2 separate regions of the Homo sapiens genome follow, and region 1 is linked to region 2. Evidence: promoter capture Hi-C in 16 types of primary human blood cells and fetal thymus (Javierre and others, 2016). All regions are on one chromosome and are shown on one strand. The core of a region is centred on a gene start or on the middle of the fragment in contact, and the rest is flanking DNA. Distances in the headings are between cores, read along the strand shown. Region 1 overlaps PIK3C3 (phosphatidylinositol 3-kinase catalytic subunit type 3). Region 2 holds the start of PIK3C3 (phosphatidylinositol 3-kinase catalytic subunit type 3).

Evidence for each region. Contacts are between HindIII fragments. The CHiCAGO score rates a contact against its expected background, and 5 or more counts as called.
Region 1: a contact is called between a fragment that was not itself captured here and the fragment with the promoter of PIK3C3 in region 2, in 1 of 17 cell types (monocytes). The highest score is 6.6, in monocytes.

What each region holds. Positions count from the first base shown.
Region 1 is chr18:41,988,246-41,994,777 of GRCh38, reverse strand. PIK3C3 (phosphatidylinositol 3-kinase catalytic subunit type 3) reads right to left here. Exons shown (of 25, transcript NM_002647.4): 6 at 4,224-4,319; 7 at 1,437-1,508. Among named protein-coding and RNA genes, the nearest start is that of PIK3C3, 36 kb to the right of the region's middle. The HindIII fragment of the contact is 5,430 bases long and covers 2,284-6,532 here.
Region 2 is chr18:41,950,094-41,957,141 of GRCh38, reverse strand. It overlaps PIK3C3 (phosphatidylinositol 3-kinase catalytic subunit type 3), which reads right to left and starts at 1,908. Exons shown (of 25, transcript NM_002647.4): 1 at 1,783-1,908. The coding sequence starts at 1,850. RefSeq lists an enhancer at 1,951-2,130. The HindIII fragment of the contact is 3,603 bases long and covers 1-3,171 here.

The sequences.
Region 1 (6,532 bases), core at 3,749-6,248, 35 kb before region 2:
AGCATGAGCCACCATGTTTGGCCTAGTTTCATTTCCTAACATTTAGATTACAGATCCATTTGGAGTTTATTCCTATGTATGGCATGAGTTATGGATATAATTTTATTATTTTTTTCCAAATTAATTCCATTCCTCAGTATTATGACTTAGTGAAGAAATGCCACCTATATCATATACTAGATTTCCATGCATACTTGGATGTATTTCTGGGCTTTTAATTCTGTTCAACCAGTATATTGGTTTACACATGTGTGTCACTACCACATTATTGTAATTATAGTCTGTTTTATTGTCAGATACAGCTGTATATCATCTCAGTCCCACCCAAAGTTTACATTTAAAATGTGTTTCTGCATTTAACAAATAACTATAACTGCAGGCTGAACTGAATTTCTTCATACTTAGTGTGTGCTCTGAATATCAAAAGTGTAAAATATAATTTGATTTTATACTGAAAATTCAGTGCCAATTTGGGATTAACTGGATTCTACTATACTATGCATAGGAACTATCAAGGTCTTTAGAATGTTCCTACCAGATCCGCAAGTGGCCTTTTCTTTTTAACTTTTTATACTCTACTTTCCCTGCTGCCCATCTCTTCCTTTGATATTAGGCCATCAGCCGTTCCTGCTTTCATGACCTGTACTTATCTCAATCATCATGTTTTCATCATCCAATGTCCCAATTTTAATCCACTTTGGTCTGATGAGGAAGGTAACTAATCTAATTAGAAATGTATAAAATTAGAACAAAAAGAGTTGGAATGATGTAAATGAGCTGTAACTGCAAAAATCATGGTAACTATCGTGCTGCTAAAAGGATTTTGTGCCTACAAGTTTGTAATTCTAAAGTCATCTAATTAAACCTCTTTTGCATTGTATGAATTCTTATCCTCATATCCCTGAAAGCTATCATCTCAAAAATTCGTTAATAAGAAGGTATCCCACCATCATCCAAGTTACCACGTTCCAAATTGAACAGTTCTAGGGCTACAGCAATCTTCCCTATTTTCCAACAAATTGGTCTCCCTAAAACTTTCACGCATTCATCCTGGTTATAGAATCCTCCTGTAACAGGCAAATTCTCCTTCTGTATGATGGCAATCTTTCAAATACCAGTTCTGCCAAGTCTTCACTTCAAGATTATATACCCCCAACCTGAAGAAAAAAAAAAAGAGTATACTGCCTAGCTCTTTCAGCAATTCAAACAAAGTGGATGCCCAACCCTACTCTACCCTTACCTTAGTTTTAAGATGTTAATATTCCTCATAAAATTCCATCAGAAACAGTGCCTAGATGCTAAAGTGAATTTATGAATCACTTTTAGGTAACGGAGGCAGTTATATATTACTTTGTTTAAAGAAAGTACATGATGTGGCTAACTCACAATTACTCTGAAGAAAAGTACTTTCATAAAAAAATTGCACAATAACTTACCATAGACATCTGGGGGTCAGGAACTTTCACTAATTCAAAACTTGTTAAAATTGGAGATGATTCATCACCGTCCTAGATTACAGAGCAATAATTTTTTAAAAAAAGAAATTTAATACAATAGGAAGCAGTATATGATGTACACATCAATGTATTTTAATTCTATTTGATGAACATCATTCTTCCCTTTAAAGAAATCCTTATCTTCTTCTAACAATATTATAAAATGCATGTCCACTTTGTACCTCTCCTTGGTTGATTATGAAATTGTTTTGAGAAAAACTCTAACAAAATTCTTACTAAAGTTTTAGAGGTATGAGGTCTGGAAATTAGATTGTTTCGAGTTGTTCCTTTTTTTTAAACTTCGTTCATATAATGACAGTGGATTTTTAAAAACGTGCTAATTTTCAAACTCAGAACAAGAAACCACAGACTATATGTAAAATGTGGCACAATGGATGTGTTGCATCATTTGCAAAAACTAAGTGGATGTTGGTAATTTTTCAAGGTATCATAATGGAGATCCATTCAAAGAAGCAGAATTTTAAGTGTAGGGTTAATATTACTCAAATTTACACACAGCTAGAGAATCAACAACGTTGTTTCTCAAAGGGACACCTGCTCAACATAATCTAAACTTGAATAATAAAATCAATCAATCAGTTTTTCAGAAATAAAGCCATCCTATTTTGTTGGTATTATCACCTTTGAAGAATGTTGGCTTTTATTTTTCTCCAATGTGAGAAAGGTAATTCAACATAAAAATGTCACTGCCAAATATACTGGAAAAAGGCTAAACTAATTAAGGTCAAAATTCACTTTCTCATGACTGTATATTTAGCATCAAGCTTTTCTGTCAATTTCCAAATGCTAGTATGTTTTCAATTTTAAATATGGGCAACAAACTCAAGAGAGACTGAAAGCGGGGAAGCACTGTAACTTTACTTCAGTTCAGTAATTGAGTCTTACAGAAAACCACAAATTCCCACAGCCGTTGTTTAACAGGCTTGTTCTCAGTCACAACACCAGAAAACACATTTATCAGCCTAGCTGTGACAAGTAATCTTCACTAAGGCTATCTGTCACAAGACAGGTGACAAGAAAGTCTATTTCCATTAGATTCAATACACTGGCCCAGCAATCTTTACACTAAGTGGAAATATGACAGGGTGGGTAGACAGGCATTAATTTATGAGCAATTTTCAGGAAGTGGTAGAAAGGGGTCAAGAACCTTTTCAAAAATACTTGAAATTCTTCTAATTTCTATTCTGTTATTATTTCATCTGCTATCAAGCTGTCTTTCAAAGGATCCTTCACATCTCCAGTGTTTGAAAGTACCATCTCCATTAGCATGTTTTTGCAATACAAACTCTATATGGGCAGAAAATACTGCCTTTAATGAAATGACATATAGTTTAAAATGTAAAATATGATTTTATTAAAATGCACTGGTGACAGAACAGTTTCACTCACATTTCCCTTGTTTTGATGTATTTTTTCTAATAAATTAATAAACAATGTTAAATAATCTATCCAAGGAGTACCATTTATAAAATAAAAGGCAGAAACAAGTTAACACTTCCTAGTCTTTCACTAACGTGAAAGGGATATGAGTTAAAGACAAAAATATGAACAGTAACTTGAAAAAAGATCATAAATAAACTGTAAAAACTCAAACCTTCATTATGAAAACCTTTCAAATAGTAATTTATAAAAGTATACATATTTTAAAAATCACTTGTGACAGCTTTAATAAACAACAATAAAATGTAAATTTAATTTAAAAGGACTGCTTCTAATGAACAAATACACTGCATATCAGCTTGGTCATATGCTAGAAGAAATATTAATCTACTACTATGCCATGTATCAAAAGTCTGTCATCATTTATGCTGATTTAACATTTGTTGACTATTAACACAATAATAGAAGATACTTTATGTGGTTTCAAACTATGCATACATTTTTTTTTATATTTATTTTAAATAAAGATGGAGTCTCGCCATGTTGCCCAGGCGGGTCTCAAACTCCTGGGCTCAAGTAATCTTCCCACGCAGCCAACCACAGTGCTGGAATTACAGGCATGAGCCACCACACCTGGCCTGCATACAATTATTTTCTGTAGTACTTAAATATATAATTATTTCTGTAGTACTTAAATGAAGCACCTTCTACAAGCATTTAAGGAAGATACTTTCAAGTAGGTACATAATAAACACAGAACTACTTTCTGTAGCATAATGGGCAGAACAAAGCAAATCTATAACTGCATATTTGTTATTACCCAGCCTGATGGTAAAATTGTCTTAATTTTGCATCTATTGTACAAATGGACATTTCTGAAGTATTTCATAAGTATACTTCAGTGAGGGCCACATATAGACATTACACATACACTCAAATAACAAACAGACTCTTAACTTTCAATAAATAGCCTACCACTTAGAAATATAATTTCCCCCTTTCATTTTTTAAATAAATAATATTAGTAAATGAAGCCATTACTTAGTGTCCTACTTGCCAATTTGCAGAACAATTAATCACAAAGTTTTTAATCACTTGCATACTTATTGAATTCTGTAACCCAGAACTGCATTACATGAGTGATAGGCTTTTGTAATCTTGTTGTAGTTATATGATTTGATTTCTGTATACATAAACAGCTGCTGCTGACAGCTGTCTGCTGCTACCCTGCAACCAAATAATTCATCCCAGCAGGAACAACAATATTTTTTTAATGTTTCCTCTCCCCTCTACTTTAGAGACCAAAAACAGTTCCAAGGGAAATACCTTTTCATAATAAACAATACCATATTCCTTATCATCACACTTGACACATCGAAATTCAACCATCAGGTACATGAAATTAGAACTTCGTTTTTCACTCTGAAAAAAAAAATGATTTTCATGAAAAATGATTATTTTCAACATTCTCTTAAAGGATCAGTATGTATCATTTTTCCTAATTCAGTAATACATGTATCTATCAAATACAAGTCAAAACATAACACATTTTTATTTTATTATATACATGTAGTGTGTTTTACACAGCACTATTATTTTATTATAGACAGCACTACTGTTTATTCAGTAGTGTCTACTATGCACTTATAACTGCTTTCTCAAATTTAACATTTTTGGTTTATTCAGTAGTTTGGGTTTATAATCTTGAAGGTATTTTGCACACATGTTCATGAGAACTATTTTATTTCAAAAATAAAAAGAATGGTTTTTCCTTCTAACAATTTTAAGCTAAGTTCACCCTTAACTTATATGACTAAACCATAGAAATCAATATGTGTAACAAAAATCAAAAGGAAGAAAAGTGTGCAACCTAAGAACAGAGGCCATTTGAGTTTACCAAGTATAGCCTTTACAAGTTTTTCGCAATTTATAAATGGTCTTAAAATGATTTGTCATTTGTAAATTTTTATCCACACTTTAAATATACTGCGGAATAATTACTTCTTGTTCCAACATAAAAAAAAGTTATTTATATAATTGTGTCCCCTTTAAAATAAAAAAGCAAACATGGTCACATGTCACTTAACGACAGGTGTACATTCTGAGAAATGCATCATTAAGCAATTTAGTCGTGTAAACATCATGAAATGTAAACACACAAATCTAGATGGTATAGCCTATAGCACACCGAGGTTATATGGTGTAGCATATTACCCCTAGGCTACAAACTTGTTACTTCAGGTTACTGTACTGAATACTGTGGGCAACTGTAACACAATAGTTAGGTATCTGTGTATCTAAACATACCTAAAAGAGAAAAAGTACAGTAAAAATAAAGTACTATAATCTTACGGAACCATCATTGTACATGTGATCTGCAGTTGACTGAAATGATATGATGAGGCACATGACTATACTAAGGTGATGATAAAGTGAAAATACAATGAAGTCTAAGCGGGTGATTAGCCTTGACCCAAAACACCTTTATAAATGGCTTTACATCTAAAACATAAAATCACCAGGCATGGTGGCTCACACTTGTAATCCTAGCACGTTGGGAGGTGGGAGGACTGCTTGAAGCCAGGAGTCTGAGACTATCCTGGGCAATATAGCCAGACCCTGACTCTACAAAAAATTTTAAAAATATTAGCCAGGCCTGTAGTCCTAGCAACTTGGGAAGCTAATCAGGAGGACTGCCTGAGTCCAGAAGTTTGTGGCTGCACTAAGCATACCAGTGTACTCCAGCCTGGGTGACACAGCAAGACCTTGTCCCCCAAAAAAAACAAACAAAAAAAAGAAATAATAAATGATAAAGGTCTGAAGAGGTTACTTAAATTCTTCAGCTTTATGAAGCATATTATAGTCTATTTTGTAATAGTAATGCGGTGGTAATGGTAATTTCTTTCAAAGAAATTAAAATGTAAAAATATGAAAAAGGCTGGGCAAACTCTAACATTACGTTTTCTATACCCAGTGATATCTAAGTTTAAGAAGAGAAAAATATAAGTTAGTATTATGAGTAAACTCTTTTTGAAATGTGACTATTATAAAAATTAAAAAGGCTTCCTTCCAGTTTATGTATATAGGAATGTATTATGAATAAATTTAGAAAAGGTACCAAATACGAGAATTGAATATAAATGTTGTTAAACATCACTACCTTTATTTTAAAATAAAAGAATAATGCTAAAATCTAACTTTTGTAATAGTTCACTGTAAAATTAAAAACTTCTCTCTTTCTACCTGCTGAAAATTATTTGGAGAATATAAATTAAGTAAGTTGTGCCTTATGGTCATTATAAATTAGACAAATCACAAATTGATGTCCTTCTCTCCTAATTTGATTAATATAATTATTGTTTCTGTTCTCTAGATGTGGAACATTAGGCCTAACATCTGGCATTTTAGAGCAAATATACAAAAAAGTAAACTATTCTTGTTACAACTTTTGGCAGGACTCTCATTGAAGCCATCTTTATTTAAACATACACACTGGCTCACATACAAGGTCAAGAAAAAAATCACCTAAATCATGTAACTTTATAGAGGGTGCGGAGTCCTATATGTAGTACATAGACAAGTAATAAATTAATTGAAGAGAGAACTTGCTGAAATGATTTATGGTAACTGAAGTG
Region 2 (7,048 bases), core at 659-3,158:
GAAAAGATAAGCAATACAGTATTACAATAAAATATTAAGTCATTGCTTCTGGGGAAAAAAATTTACTTTTAACTGCATGTTTTTATTCTACTCTTTCCATTTTTTTCTTTTACTATGCATATGCATTGTCTGATCATTTCTTTAAAACAGTGGTATAAGTCATAAATAGATATGCACAGGATACTATCACAGAGGGAGGAACATTTTTTAGACATCAAGATTACATCAGATACTGTGCCAGGCATTTTATATTTTCTTTCTTACATAATTTTCACCATATTCTCATTTTATAAATGAGGAAACAGAGACTTATAAACTAAACTCCTTATCCACAGTCACAACGTAAGTAACAGAGCTGAGAATAAACACTAGGGCAGGGAGGCCAAAGCCAATATTCTTCCCATTACAGTAAGATAAATCAGAGTCTCAAGAGTACTTAGGCTGGCATGGGGAAGGGACTTAGTACCCCAGATAGATGTCTGAAATGATCCTGAACAATGCATGAGAGTTGAAGCAAAAGAAGCAGAACGTCATCCCAAAGGGAAAGGAGACAGAGTGAGACCCTGTCTCCAAAAAAAAAAAAAAAAAAAAAAGGGACCGGTTTTTTTGGCTTTTTCTTTATTTTTAATGTTCAAACATTTCAAAAAATGCATTCATATATCCAAGAAATACTGAGCATCAAGCTGAAGGAAAGCCCTTTATCAATATTGATCCTGTATAAACTACTAGTGGTGTATGCTATGGAAAATACCTTAAATGAGTGTATAAAGTATCATACAAAGGTACAAGGTGGTTGTTGACATATTACTTTTACCACCACCACCACAAACTAAAAAGTAAAGTATTTGTCAGCGAATAAGGGACTTCTGAAAATAAAATGAAATGATCATTCAAAGGTACATCAGACAACTGAGAAAATTTATCTATCACTTACTGCAGGCCTTTGACCGACACATATTTGTTGAATATTAATTGAACATACACAAGAAATGTTTATTAATTATGGATGATGCTATGGTCAATAATTTGTGATAGCTTTGACAACACTCCTACATGACCACCTTAAAAGGGACATAATTTCCAACTCTGTCTTGTGCATCCCTCGTCATTATACCAGTTCTATTATCCTCATCTCAAGATATCACGCCCTTGACCTTTACTTCAGCCGTGGTGCCCCAACGTTTTCCTGCAAAGACTCTTTTCTCCTATCTTCTTGGTACCTTTGAAACTGGAACCCTCATCTTCGACTTACTCCCAACTTCCCTGACTAAACACTGCCATACTACCCAAAGATTCACTCTAGGCCTCTATCACCTCCCGTGCTAATACACCATGTGCTCATCTTATTCTCAACTATCGCATCTGCCTGTGTCTACCTCTCCATAATTTCTGAAGCCTTCATTCCACCCTACAAGCCCCGTTCCAAAATAAAGATCGTCCTCTTACTTACGACGAGACTTGATTTCTTAATTTACAATGAAATAGTAATAAACTCTCAAAAGGCTGAACAGCAAAAACTTTAAAGACTGTAAAATACAGCGGAACTTAAGGGCTATTCCTACTGCTGTGCTTCTCACGGAGACCACGTATTAAATCCTTTTCCAAAAGAGCCCCTCTCCACGATCCACTCTCTCGCGCCTCCCTGGCTACAGCCCTCACAGCCGCCCCCAATCTGGGCCTTGAGACGAGTCACGTACTTTCTGCCTCTCACTCCCAACAGGCCCCTGCCCCCACGTCCCTACGCCCCAGCAATCCCACTCCCTGTCCCGAGTGTTCTCTTACATCTTAAGCTGGACGTTGATATCCAGGTCACAACTATAGATGTAGTGAAACTTCTCTGCTTCCCCCATCGCACCGTCTGCAAAGGTACCACCTACAGCGGGAACTTAGGTACAGGAAAAACAACATAAATGAACCAGCTGAGCCCCACAACACGGAACTTCCGGTTCCGCCCCCGCCAGCAAGCCGCCAATCCACGCCCGGAGCGAGTTCCGACGCGGCGGAACTCCCCGCCGAAACAACCCTTCCGCGCATGTGCACAAGGCGCCCACCATCTTGCTTAAGGGCAAATGTATACGGGAAACGGCTAATCTGGTTACATTCCAGTTTTCCTGTCTTGACAGCACTTTTTTTTTTTTTTAAAGAAAAAGAGACGCTATCATTTGAGCTTGAGCTGTACCTAAAACAATACGAAAGAAAATTCAATTCAAAAAGAATTATAACAGCTTTCACTGGCTGCCGGCTAAACAGGTTACAAGCACAAAAATTGGAATTTTGCCAGGTTTAAATTCCAGTGGCCTTCCCAAAAAGTGTAGCACTAATTTGCTATCTCAAGCAAGGATTTTCTCTTTCTGCTCTAAAGAGTAGGGAAAGGACTAAATAGAGAATAAATAAATCTGGGTTTCATGTTTGGTGTTGTCAGTATTCATGCTACTTTGGACATAATACTTGCGTGCATGTTTAAACTGGGAATATTCAAATTCAATGTAGTTTCAAGCCCTAACCCAAGTTAGAATCTAGAGGCCTCCTGTAATAACTACAGAACACAGATCTCTAAACCCTCTGAGCTCCTATAATGTTTGTTTTTATAATTATTATAATCTAAAATTGTAATACTCCCTTCCAATTAGATTGAAAACTCTTGGAAGGTAAGACCAGTGTGCCATTTACTTCCGTGTCTTGCCCCGCTAGCTGTCTAATGCATTGCTGAGTTTAATACTTCCTACTTACTGGTTATTAATGATGATATTGAATGAAAGTCTCCATTTTCTATGCCTTTATTTCTTTTTTTTTTTTTTTTTTGAGATGGAGTTTTGCTATTGTCGCCCAGGCTGGCACCATCTCGGCTCACTGCAACCTCCATCTCCTGGGTTCAAGCGATTCTCCTGCATCAGCCTCCCAAGTAGCTGGGATTACAGGCACCCGCCACCCAGTCAGGCTAATTTTTGTATTTTTAATAGAGATGGGGTTTCACCATGTTGGCCAGTCGGGTCTCAAACTCCTAACCTCCAGTGATCTGCCTGCCCTGGCCTCCCAAACTGCTATGTCATTTCTTTTTTTTTTTTTTTTTTTTTTTTTGAGACAGAGTCGCTCTGTTGCCCAGGCTGGAGTGCCCGTCTCTCTGTTGCCCAGGCTGGAGTGCAGTGGCGCGATCTCGGCTCACTGCAAGCTTCACCTCCCAGGTTCATGCCATTCTCCTGCCTCAGCCCCCCAAGTAGCTGGGACTTCAGGTGCCCGCCGTCACGCGCGGCTAATTTTTTGTATTTTTTAGTAGAGTCAGGGTTTCACCGTGTTAGCCAGGATGGTCTCGATTTCCTGACCTCGTGATCCGCCCTCCTCGGCCTCCCAAAGTGCTGGGATTACAGGCGTGAGCCACCTCGCCCAGCCTATGTCTTTATTTCTAAGTGCTGCATTTTAAGACGGACATCACTAAAGTATGTGCAAAATGGCGTAATTAGAATGTTGAGGGATTAGAAAAAAAATATTTCCAAGAAAGGGTGAAAGGTGTGGAGCTGTTTAACCTGGAAAAGGAAAAAAAATGGCTAATGCAGAATGTTTTACACAAAATAAGTTCTCAAAAATATTTATGGAGGCAAGAAAAGGATTTGGGTAGAATAAAGAAAAACATGATAGTTATCCTCCTATAACTTAAAGTTTAAACAAAAAGAGCACCTTTGATTTGTTCCTAAGAATAACTGCCACCAATGGTTGGAACTTACAGGAAATGTAATTTCAACAAACAATACAAATTGAACTTTCTAATTATCACAGCCATTCAACAGTAACACTGTTGTCACAAGTACTCTGTTTAAGGCATAACTCCAGCAATGAGTGTGAGGTTTGATGTGAAACCTCAATCTTGAATAAAATATTGACAATGTGTAAAGGAGTAAATTATCTGATCCCAGTGGTGAATAAATTACTTTCATTATGTAATGGTATTTAATGTATAAACCTAAGATAATATTATATACATATACAACCAAACAAATTTACAAATTAAATATAAAAACTTCAAATTAACAATCTTAATATAATAGTGGGATTTTTTACGGAAACTGTTGTTTGCAAAATGATTATGGAATATAGTGTTGGCTACTCTTACAGGACTGATTCTTTGAAATTCAGCACGTCTATACTGCTATATTCCACAGGGCAATTCATTTTTCTAGACTCTTTTTCTCTATTCAAATAACTATGAACTCTTCATGAGTGTAACCACCATGATGTATTCTGGCTTTATCTTGCCTACAACACATCTTTTTGTTTTAAGCCTGACTTTGTCCTTTTCTCATTAGCTCATAACAATTAAAGTAATACTGATTGTTTCCAAAACAGTTGCAAACACAACACAGATAAAAGCATGAAAATCAAATGTCAGTACTTAGTTATAAGATATTCATTCACAGAACCCAAAATAGATTTAACTTTTTAAAGATTATCAAGAGAAAAAAATAACATTAAAAATGTATTATAGAGGGATCTCAGAAAACTTGACTGTAGTTGTATTAAATATGTTAATACATCAAGGAAAACTAATGTGCCAATAAGGAGCAAGATTTTGGTAAGTCATGGAAGCATGGAAAGAATTATTATAGAAACCAAAACTCTCAGTGCCTTTTGTACTGTAAGTCAGGGAAGTGTTGGTTGGTAGACTTGAGTATCAGAATTCAATTAACAAGGCCATCTCTATAAGAGAAAAGGAAGCCTTAAGCATCTTATTTTGAAAGGAGAGGAATGATTTTTTCCTTCCCATGTGATTTTCATGAATCATGAATATAACATACGCTCATAATTATGGGATACAATTTGCATTGCAAGAGTCCACGGTGGCCTGTCTGCAGAAAAATAACTTACAGAAATAGGTGTTTTCTTGGTGTGGTAGGCTCTTCCAATGATTATTATATGATCCCATATTTAATTTTCCCTTGGAGTTGCAGTTTTGGCTTTGTGCTTCTTTTGCCACCTTGTTTCAATTTCTATTTTAATTATTCTAGTAACCAGTTTTAATGATGGCTTAGAAATGTGTTGATTGTGCCCCATTTCTTCCTTCCTTCCTTTCTTTCCTTCCCTTCCTTCCTTCCTTCCCCCTTCCCTTCCCTTCCCTTCCCTTCCCCTCCCTTCCCTTCCTTTCCTTTTTCCTGAATCGAAGTTTTGCTCTGTTGCCCAGGCTGGAGTGCAGTGGTGCAATCACAGCTTACTGCAGCCTCAACCTCCTGGGCTCCAGCAATCCTCCCACCTTAGCCTCCTGAACAGCTGGGATTACAGGCACGCACCACCATGCCTGGCTACTTTTTAAATTTTTTTTGTAGAGATAGGGGCTTACTGTGTTGCCCAGGCTGATCTCGAACTCCTGGGCTCAAGCAATCCTCCCTCCTCAACCTCCCAAAAGTTTAGTATTACAGACGTGAGCCACCATGCCTGACCTCCATTTCTTCAATTGCCCAGGACTGACATAATGATAATCAGGTTTATTTTTGCCAGTTTCTATAACCCAATTTATTCCCTTTGCTTGGAAATTTTTTTAAATGCACTGATAACTTTACAAAGCAACAGTCTGTTACTGAGCTCCCATCAAGAATAAACAAGTATGATGCTGTGAGATTAAATCTATCTCATAATTCCTTTTTTTCTAATTAAAAAATGCCTTTGTGAGTTTTCTAATAACTGTGTTTTAGAACTCAATCACATGCTAGAACAGACAACAGTGCTAAGGCACTTGAAAAATCCTAACTAATAATTCAAAAGTCTTGGCCATTTCTCAGCTGACAATGTGAAAAAAAATGGGCTTAATGAATATCCATGAATGATCCTAATGCAGGAACCCCCAAGGCCTGGGTCGGGGGTTCCATTCAAAAAGGTAATTTATATAGCTGCAAAAGGGAAAGAATAAAAGCATAAGTTATTCTGAAAAATAATAAAATTATACTTGCATATGTGTTCCTTTGTAATATCTCTGTTACATAATAACAAAGCTCCCTAGTCTTGGGCATTTCTTTATAGCAGTGTGGAAACAGACTAATAATCTGGGTTTCTTATTGTGTAAGCAATAATTATGTTTACAAATTAAGCCACTTTCATTTTTTAAAAATCTTTCTGTTACATACAGCTGGAAGCATATAATTCCTAACACGGTGTTAAAAGGTTTTTCATGTTCTGGCTCATGTGGTACTGTTCAAGCTCTCTAGACTTAGTGTAGTCAAGAACTCTAGGCCCTATCAAGTTTAGACCTTTTAAAAACTGTGCTAGCCTCTGGGAAAGTCTCCATTTTTCTTCCTGACTCCTACCAAAGGAACTTCTATTAGACTTATGCATTGCAAGCCTAAGATTACTCCTTCAAGGAAGCCTCTTCTGATGCCACCTTCCTCCCACAACACTAGTTAAACCAAGTCATTCAAAAATCTATTCCTCCTCGTATTCTTCTTTCACAGCACTTCCAAGAGTGTCTGTCATAATAGTTTGGTTGATTGCTGTCTGACCCACTAGACTGTGAGCTCTGTGAGGAAATGGTTTGTGTCAATTTTATTTACTACTTTTTATGGATTGAATGTTTGTGCTCTCCAAAATTTACATGTTAAAATTAAATCCCTGATACTAAGATATTTGGAGACAGGGCCTTTAGGAGGTAATTAGATCTTGAGGGTGGAGCCATCATGAACTGGTTTAGTATCCTTATGAAAGCTGGCCAGAGAGCTCTCTTGCATTCTTGCCTTGTGAGGATACAATGAGAAGTCAGCAGTCTGCAACCCCGAAGAAGGCCTTCACCTGAACCCAACCATGCTGGCACCCTGATCTCAGACAGCTAGCTGCTAGAAATGTGAGAAATAAATGTTTGTAGTTTAAGCCCCCGCCCCCTTACTATGGTAATTTGTTATAGCAGCCTGAGCAGACTAATACACCACTTACCGTATTGTCTACTTTAGTTCCTGGTGTAGAACACATGTTGAAAATAAGGAAAGTAGGAAATAAAATAGTACTTGAAAAACAACTATCTTTCATGTTAGGTGATTTTCCATGTATTATGTTATTATTTCAACAAATTCGTGAA